Linked DNA regions of Homo sapiens: all the other regions are linked to region 3. The links are contacts of gene promoters, found by promoter capture Hi-C in blood cells and fetal thymus (Javierre and others, 2016). All regions are on one chromosome and are shown on one strand. Each heading gives the region's core, a stretch centred on a gene start or on the middle of the fragment in contact. The rest is flanking DNA. Distances are from core to core; before and after follow the strand shown. Region 1 overlaps SMYD3 (SET and MYND domain containing 3). Region 2 overlaps SMYD3 (SET and MYND domain containing 3). Region 3 holds the start of SMYD3-AS1 (SMYD3 antisense RNA 1).

Evidence for each region. The method cuts DNA at HindIII sites, captures the fragments that hold promoters and counts their contacts. A CHiCAGO score of 5 or more calls a contact.
Region 1: a fragment that was not itself captured here is called in contact with the fragment with the promoter of SMYD3-AS1 in region 3 in 1 of 17 cell types (megakaryocytes); the score reaches 6.0 in megakaryocytes.
Region 2: a contact is called between a fragment that was not itself captured here and the fragment with the promoter of SMYD3-AS1 in region 3, in 1 of 17 cell types (megakaryocytes). The highest score is 7.8, in megakaryocytes.

What each region holds. Positions count from the first base shown.
Region 1 is chr1:246,262,265-246,264,964 of GRCh38, forward strand. All of the region lies in intron 5 of SMYD3 (SET and MYND domain containing 3), which reads right to left. Among named protein-coding and RNA genes, the nearest start is that of SMYD3-IT1, 59 kb to the right of the region's middle. The HindIII fragment of the contact is 851 bases long and covers 865-1,715 here.
Region 2 is chr1:246,279,656-246,282,355 of GRCh38, forward strand. All of the region lies in intron 5 of SMYD3 (SET and MYND domain containing 3), which reads right to left. Among named protein-coding and RNA genes, the nearest start is that of SMYD3-IT1, 41 kb to the right of the region's middle. The HindIII fragment of the contact is 786 bases long and covers 1,009-1,794 here.
Region 3 is chr1:246,107,230-246,109,929 of GRCh38, forward strand. It overlaps SMYD3-AS1 (SMYD3 antisense RNA 1), which reads left to right and starts at 1,397. Exons shown (of 4, transcript NR_183265.1): 1 at 1,397-1,488; 2 at 2,553-2,664. The region is part of intron 5 of SMYD3 (SET and MYND domain containing 3); the gene reads right to left. The HindIII fragment of the contact is 2,656 bases long and covers 1-2,230 here.

The DNA.
Region 1 (2,700 bases), core at 40-2,539, 150 kb after region 3:
AAGAACAAGGCAACTGAAGTCTAACGATATGGTGGATAAGAATCCGATTTTAAATCTTGACATTGCTTGAGAATGGGAATAATGTGTTACTTATTTTTCGCACTATGACTAACAATTATTAAACATCTAATATGTACCAAACACAGTTCTGGACATATTCCCATATCTTAACTCGTTTAATCTTGACAACAATCCTTCTGAGGTAGGTTTTATTACCCTTCATTTCAGATGAGGAAATAAACTCACAGACATTACTAATTTGGGTGACTCAGACAGACACAGTTTCCATTTTGTTCTTCCTTTCAGTTAACATATATTTCTTATGGACTTTCTGCTTGTTCCAGGCACTATGCTTGGCACAGCGTCTACCATTTCTCTTTCTACTAAACCATATAGCCGGTCTCTGACACCTAGCACAGTACCTAGGTCATATTAGGTTCTCAATGAAGATTCACTGAATTATTTGGTTAATTTACTTGTCTCTATAAAATAAACATTTACATAGAAATTTGGGTCCAGGTTTATATTATCTTAAAACATCTTGTAATTCAACACTGTTAAAACATGTATTTTAAAAATAGTTTTTCAAAAGAGAAAATATTTCATTGATTATAGACATCTAGGAAACCCAAGTCAGGTGGCAAATACCTGCACTGAAAACTAACAGAATCATGGAAAGGAAGCCTGACACAGCATGATGCACATTCTCTCAACTTTGTATGTAAATAAATCCTACATTCTTTAATTGTCTCAAGAATGCGTGATTTGAATACCTAATTCTATTACAAATATCACATGGGAATGGTCTTCCAATGTTGGTACATGTACTCAAGGCACAATGCATAGTGTTGACCAAAAAGCAAAAGCTTACCATGAAAAAAGGTAAGTAATGGATGGATTACTTTGTAGTCAGACATGGATAAGGTTGAATGTTAGCTCTGCCATTTACTAGCTACCTTATTTTGAGGGAAGTTATTTCACTTTTCTGAGGCTGTTTCTGTACTATAAAATACAGATAATTCTAACAGCATCTACTGTGCACTCAGAGATTATGGTGAGGACTAAATGACAGGATGTATGTGACCTGGGCACATACCCAGGTCAGAGTTAGGGCTCATTAACAGTTAGCTGTATATTGAAGTAGAAAAGTTAGGGAGGCTGGGAAATAAATTTTCTGGTAGGCATGAGGTGGAGCAGACTACATAATGATCACCTTCTTTTTACTGTCTAACCTTTAAAGCTCCTTAGTATGCAGGAAAATGCCTGCTCCTGAATGAGCTGATCTTCATACCAGCGTATTTATCTTTCCTAATTCAAAAACAGCCTCCTTAAAACACAAACATACTTTTTCATACTGTCATTCAAAATAGCTGCTTATGATATAACTTAATAGTAAAAATGGGAAAATTACTGATTTCTTTTTGTACAATTCTATGTACCTTCAACAAATTATGCCTTTTCATTTTCAAAGGATAATACCAATTCCTTCCAAAGGCATGATCAAACCTAAATAGTGGTTAATTTGAACATTTCTTTTAAGTCCCAGAAGAAGAAATTACGTTAACCACTTCTTCATATCTTAAGTGAAAAATGTGTAAGACAGTAACTGTCTTAAATAATTACATTTCTGCTTATTAGGTGTAATTAATATTTTATCCCCAAATTAAGCCAAAATAATTCCTTAGATATAAGATGCCTACACAACCAACAAATCAAGCTTTTAATTTCTGAGTTCTAGCCAAAAGGCCATATTGCCTAAGAAGAGCAGAAATAAATGTTTTTTTTTTTGTTGCCTTTTTAAAAACTTTGTAACCTACATATAAATAGAAGGAAACTCAGATTTCGAATACAGACTTCTGAGGGAAATCAAATGAATACAAAATTTATTGTATACTAAGCAGTAACTCTTGTTTATTCTATCACTTGGGACTGTATATTCTTTTTAAATTAGTATATCAATTGTTCTGAATATAATAATTCAATACAGTCATCTTCCTAAGGGTCCATTTTAAGCATCATTCAAAGCAAGTAGTAGTAAAAAGGAACAAAGCATAAGCCACAGCAGTGCTAAAAATATGGTAATTGATTAAAACAAAAACAATTAGCTGGGTGCAATGGCTCATACCTATAATCCCAGCATTTTGGGAAGCCAAGGTAGGAGGATGGCTTCAGCCCAGAAGTTCACGACCAGCCTGGGCAAGATGGTGAGACCCTGCATCTTAGAACTGATGAAAGACGGTAACTTTTCTATATTTTTTCAATATGATTTTATTCTCACACATCAACAACATTCTAAGATGTCTTACAAAGAATAGCTTTTGTAATCCCATGGCCTCTAATGCAATACAGTGCTTTATACACATTCTATGGGAATTGCAGGTACCATCTCCATAGCCTAAGAGTATGCAATCTGAACCAAATCCTTTTCTGTCCACATCTTGAAGTGCTTCTTAAATTCCTAAGATCTAACTAGTTACTTCTCTATTACCTGTTAGTGGCTCTGCTATAGAAGAAAAGGTGAAAGTAAATATCTACAAAGAAAGACAGTGGGGATAGTGACAACAATAATAACCACTATTTACTAAGTGCTATGTTCTAAACACTTTACATGGACTTTGTTACTTAATGTTTGCAATTCTATGATGCATACAGAATCAGTCTTATTACGAGATGAACAAATTTAGTTTCCAACTGATAATT
Region 2 (2,700 bases), core at 152-2,651, 170 kb after region 3:
GCTCAAATATGCAGACTATTGAACAGGGAAGAATAGAGTAGGGAGAGAAAAGACGATAGTGTAGTACCATGGGGAAGAACAGTCCAAGAAGTGTGAATTGCTCTGCCAGGGACAGCCCTGCCTGTGACGCATCACACAACTTCTCTATAAAACAAGGCTTTATGATCCTTAAGGCGTCTTCCAGGTCTAAGAGTCTATCATTCTACATTATATAAAAATCTTTAGTTGAACAATTATAGTATCTTGGGGGGAAAGTGTACTAAGGCATCAAGAAAACAATTTTATCTGCTAAGAGTACTTACTCGTAGTAAGTAAGATTAGTATGCAGAATTCTGAGTTTAGCACACACGATGTTCTTAGGATTTGGGAGCCTAGTCTTATAAATGTGAATGCCATACATTAGGTTGCAAAGAAAAGGCCATTCATATCCACGAAGATAACAAAGGAATATATATAGTAGCATGAGGTGATTTTATTTAAAGTTTAATGTCCTCAAGTAATCATTCCATGCTCAGTTTCTTATAACTGTAACTTGGAAATATTGACATTTCATATGCAAGCTATAACTAAAACTAACTTTTCTTTATAACCAGCTAGGAAAAAAATAGGCACAAAGTATTATTTTATAAAGTCTACCAAGTAACGAACATCAAAGAAATGCACATGATATAGTCAGGCTTTTTCTAGCACTTGTCAGTACAAGCCAGTTAGTGGAGTAAATCGGTTTGGCTGAAAGTCCTATGCTGCCATGCGACAGAAAAGAGAGCTAAACTATCCACATTCCATAGTTTACCTTCTGTCACTAATAATCTCCATCATCTACTTAAAAATCTTAGAGAAGCTGGGCACAGTAGCTACTTGGGAGGCTGAGGCAGGAGGATTGCTTGAGCCCAGGCGTTCGAGTCCAGCCAGTGCAACACAGTGAAATCTCCATTTCTCTCTTTAAAAGAATGTTAAAGACATCTACCTCAATTTTTGGCAATCTCCTACTGTAGCTTGAAATGTTAAAGCTTACATTTAGACTGTGCATGTCAGTTTCTATTATCATTCCACTTTACAGAGAATTAAAAAAACACTGTGCTTGCAACTTAAACTGGTATTAAACTGACCCCTGCTGGCCTCATCTTTTCTGTTTCTGCATTTATCAGATGCTTCAAGAGCTAACTGCATTCTATAGTTCAACCTATATTTGATCAGGCTGCCACCTCAAAAACAAAACGTGGGACAAAGATGGCTAGTTGTACCAAATTCCAAATGGAAGGATGCCTTCCTCAGACCTTTGTCTATTTTATTTGCAAAAACCTAGCAATTAAAATCACACTAATATTCCAAAGAAGTATCTCCTATAGCCTATGAATTTATTCTAAAACCTAATGCACTCAATAGACATTTACAGATTTCTCAAAGACTGCCGGGAAATAAAGATTTTTCTAATCACAGCACCTGCCCTCCAGGTACTTACAGGCATTTATGAGTCATTGAAAAGATACATCTGAGAATTCAATTCTAGCATATCATTGGACACCACACAGGTGAGAAGGAAGTGGGGTCCCCATTCAGCCCGTGGTAGAGCCTGCCTCACTGGTGCCAGGTCACTTGAGATTCGTTACTGAAATGGCCCAGGACAATGTGTTCTCTTCCTTCTTTGTGAACTCACTGTGCTTTATGAATTATAATGGCTGCCATTGATTGGCAACCTACTATGTGCCAGAGACTACTACAGTTAGGTGCTTTCCACACACTATCACATTTACCCTACTCAGTAACTCTGTGAGATAGGTGATTTTATGCTCAAGCTTGTATCATGGGTGAGTAAAGCTCTGTGAGAATACTGATCATATCATACCGCAATGTTTTTCCTTTAAAGAGATGTTTCTCCTCTAAACAACAGCAAACACCTTAAGCACAGGAAATTACGTTATTGTCATCTCTGTATCCTCAGAACCTCATATACCTCAGTAAAGGCACATAGTAGGCACTCTAAAAACATCTGCAAAACATACAAATGAAAATATTATTGAAAGAATGTAGCTACTAAATACATACTATGGGCATAACCTATGCTTAGGCACTGAGAAAACAGTGGAGGAAAAGAAAGAAGAGGCAAAGGCTTTGATTCCTGAGCACAGACACCCATACGTGACTATGGAAAGAAAAGGAGAAGTTCCAAGACATAAGTAAACAGAATGCTATGTCAATACAGCTCATACTACCAGTCAGCTCAAAATCAAACAGAAAAAGGACTCCTAAATCAGAGGACAATGACACACTGGTGCTGGGCTATTGGAAATGAAACCTATTAAAGAGGAAAAAAGAGAGAGGAGGTAGAATGTCATTAAATTCCTTTCTGTTTTTGTAACATATCTACAAGACCAAATGATGTGAAAAATAGTTCTGCAAGACGGGGACTATGTGAATCCAGTTTTAAAGGTCCAAATATGTATACTTTACTTATATAGATCATGGCATAGTAGGAAAGACAGAAGATCATAAAAACAAATATAATGTAGAGGTCTAAAAATTGTTTCCTGGTCAGGTGCAGTGGTTCATGCCCGTAATCCTAGCACTTTGGGAGGCCAAGCCAGGAGGACTGCTTGAGCCCAGGAGTTTGAGACCAGCCTGGGCAACATGGCAAGACCCTCATCTCTACAAAAAAAAAAAAAAAAAAAAAAAAAAAAAAAAAAAGCAAAAAAATTAGCT
Region 3 (2,700 bases), core at 147-2,646:
TGAGCCGAGATTGCGCCACTGCACTCCAGCCTGGGTGACAGAGCAAGATTCCATCGCAAAAAAAGAAAAAAAAAAAGAATTTTGAAATGGAAATGTATCTATTTTTCCTTTCTTTAGAAAACAAACAGAAAATGAAGCCAACATATCTCATCACAGATTGCTCTTTAAATATGCGACCTTATACCAAAAGCAGACAAGTTCACAAAGAGATTATTTTTATAATTTAATCACAGAAAAGACTAGACTATCAGGTAGTTGGTGGCTACAGAAGTGACTGCTCCCCACTGAAGCAAGGAATGGATAGAATAAGTCCTTGAAATAAATGCTCAGGTCTTCCCTTAGTAATTCTGGACAGTGGGGAAATTAGCTCATTCAAACAAAGTTTATTAAATAAATAAAATCCCAGCACTTGTCTCTTTAGACAAAAACCACATGGAAACAATACAAAAGATTGCTAATGCTTTGGCAAATGAATCACTCTTCCAAATGCCATTTACAAAAGCCCACCAGACCTCCAGCTGTGCTGATGCCATGGGAACCCCTAGGGCAATTATAAGTGGATTTAACTCAAGACCAGAAACACAGGAGTAATTTTTAAAGACCCAAAAACTTCCAAATAAATAAATCTGGAAAGGAATTACTGTTTACACCACAGAGCCACAGGTTCAAATAGCCAAACTTAAAGAAGAAAAAACACACATGTATATATCTACTTCATCATGTAATCTCTGAACAATAGGAACTTTACTGAGTTGTCACTAAGGAAAGAGCAAAATCTAAGATAGGTAGTTTCTGGAAAATGAAAGTCCAGAGAAACTTGGCCATAAAATGAAAATTATAACGGACTTACAGAGCTCGTCTTCTTTGGGTTAAGAAACAAAGGTCTTCTTGTGCAAAGGAAGAATTCGAAAGAGGAATTCTTAAGTAGATGGCTGATGCATCCACGTCTAAACATCCAAAATCTACCAAGCACCTATTACATAACTAAGCCCTGTGTCAGAGGCTGTGGAACAAGAACCACTAAAACTTATCTCTGACCTCAAGAAGTTTATAGTTCAGGGAAGTGACTGACAATCATAATACAGAGGCATAAGGGCTATCCAAATAGGGTCACAGGTTACGCTATGAATACAGGTATCACATCAGAAAATTACCGTACTTAAAATCTCAGCAAAGAGATCACACCCTCACACAATTAATGTTATCAACATCCATCCAGTCTCTCAAGCTCACCCTCTTCAACAATCTTTGCTTTACTGAGTTCCGGGTGGACTATTTAAATATCATACAAATTGATTCTGACATCACAATCACTGCCTGCTTCCTAAAACTTGCCCTCCACCGTCTATTATAAATGCTTTCCAATCAGTGCTCCCATTCTTCATTCTATTCACCACTTAGTTACTAGAATGTTTTTCTCAACTATGAATCTGACTTCACTCCCTTTCTTGAAAACCTCCTGTAGTTCCTGTTGTGTACGGGATAAAGGTCAGACAACTTAGTATAGCCCAGCTCAGTCCAGCTAGCAAAGCAAATACTAGCTTTATTCCCTGCAAGCAACGTAAGACAAAGACAACCACACTAAACTCAGTATTAGCAGACCACCATCCTCCCTGAGGCCTCCACTGCTTTGCACACACTCTTCTCTTTCTCAGAAGGTCCTTTCCCCTCCTCCTGTTGGTGCAGCCAATTCTTTCTCTTCCTTCTAATGCACCATCTTCTGTGTAGTCTTCTTTGACACTAGGTAGGGTTACATCTTTGCTCTGTGTTTCTATAACACTCTTCATATGCCATGGAACTGCATTCATTATATTGGTATAATTTTATTTGTCTTTTTTCTTCCTAGACTGTGAGCCCCTGGAGTTCAGGGACCATTTCTTAATCATATTCCAGAACCTATCACAATGAATGACACGAAGAATATATTTGATAAAAATCTGATGAATGAACCACTCTAAAATGCAACTCTAATAAAGAAAATTACTGCCTATTCAGTTGGAACTGTACCATGTTACAAACGTAAAATTATGTATAGTCTGATAAAGAAATACTATAATAGCCTTGGAAACAGCTCACATACAATTTTTTTTATAAATGGATTCATTACCATATAACTGGACCAGCTTACTGAAGAGTAGCCCTACAGCAGTCACTTCGCAGTTTGCAATTCATTTGAGGTTCAAAGCTAGCTCAAGGGAAAACAACGTTAGTATTAACAAACTTATTTTTAAGCTTAAGGTCAGAATTTAAGGGAAAATAAATAAATATAGTATGTTCTAAGAATCCAAAGGAATTTTTAAAAATTGCCCCCTGCAGCTGTAATTTCTGCATGGATGAGAAAACCTTAATTGCTTGCTGGCTTCCAAGAAAGCCATTAACCTGCATTTAAAAATTCAGCTTTCATCAAGAACAACCTCACATATCCAGCTCTCATGGAAAAAGGAATAGAAGCCTCTGACCTAGTTTTCAATTATTACCAAACTACTGATAATTGATCTCCTGGTCTCCAGGTTTGTTTGTTTTACTAAAATAAATTCCCTCTGGAGCTGCAGGTGCTTACCATGGGGCTGCGCAGGTGGAAAGCAGCCCAGTCTTACTATGAGGATGTCCGTTTGCCATCTGGGAACAAGGAGGAAGAAGCAGAGACCTGGGCAAGACCTCAGAGTAAGTGTCCTTTTTGGCGGCTCCCAGGGGTCCCCA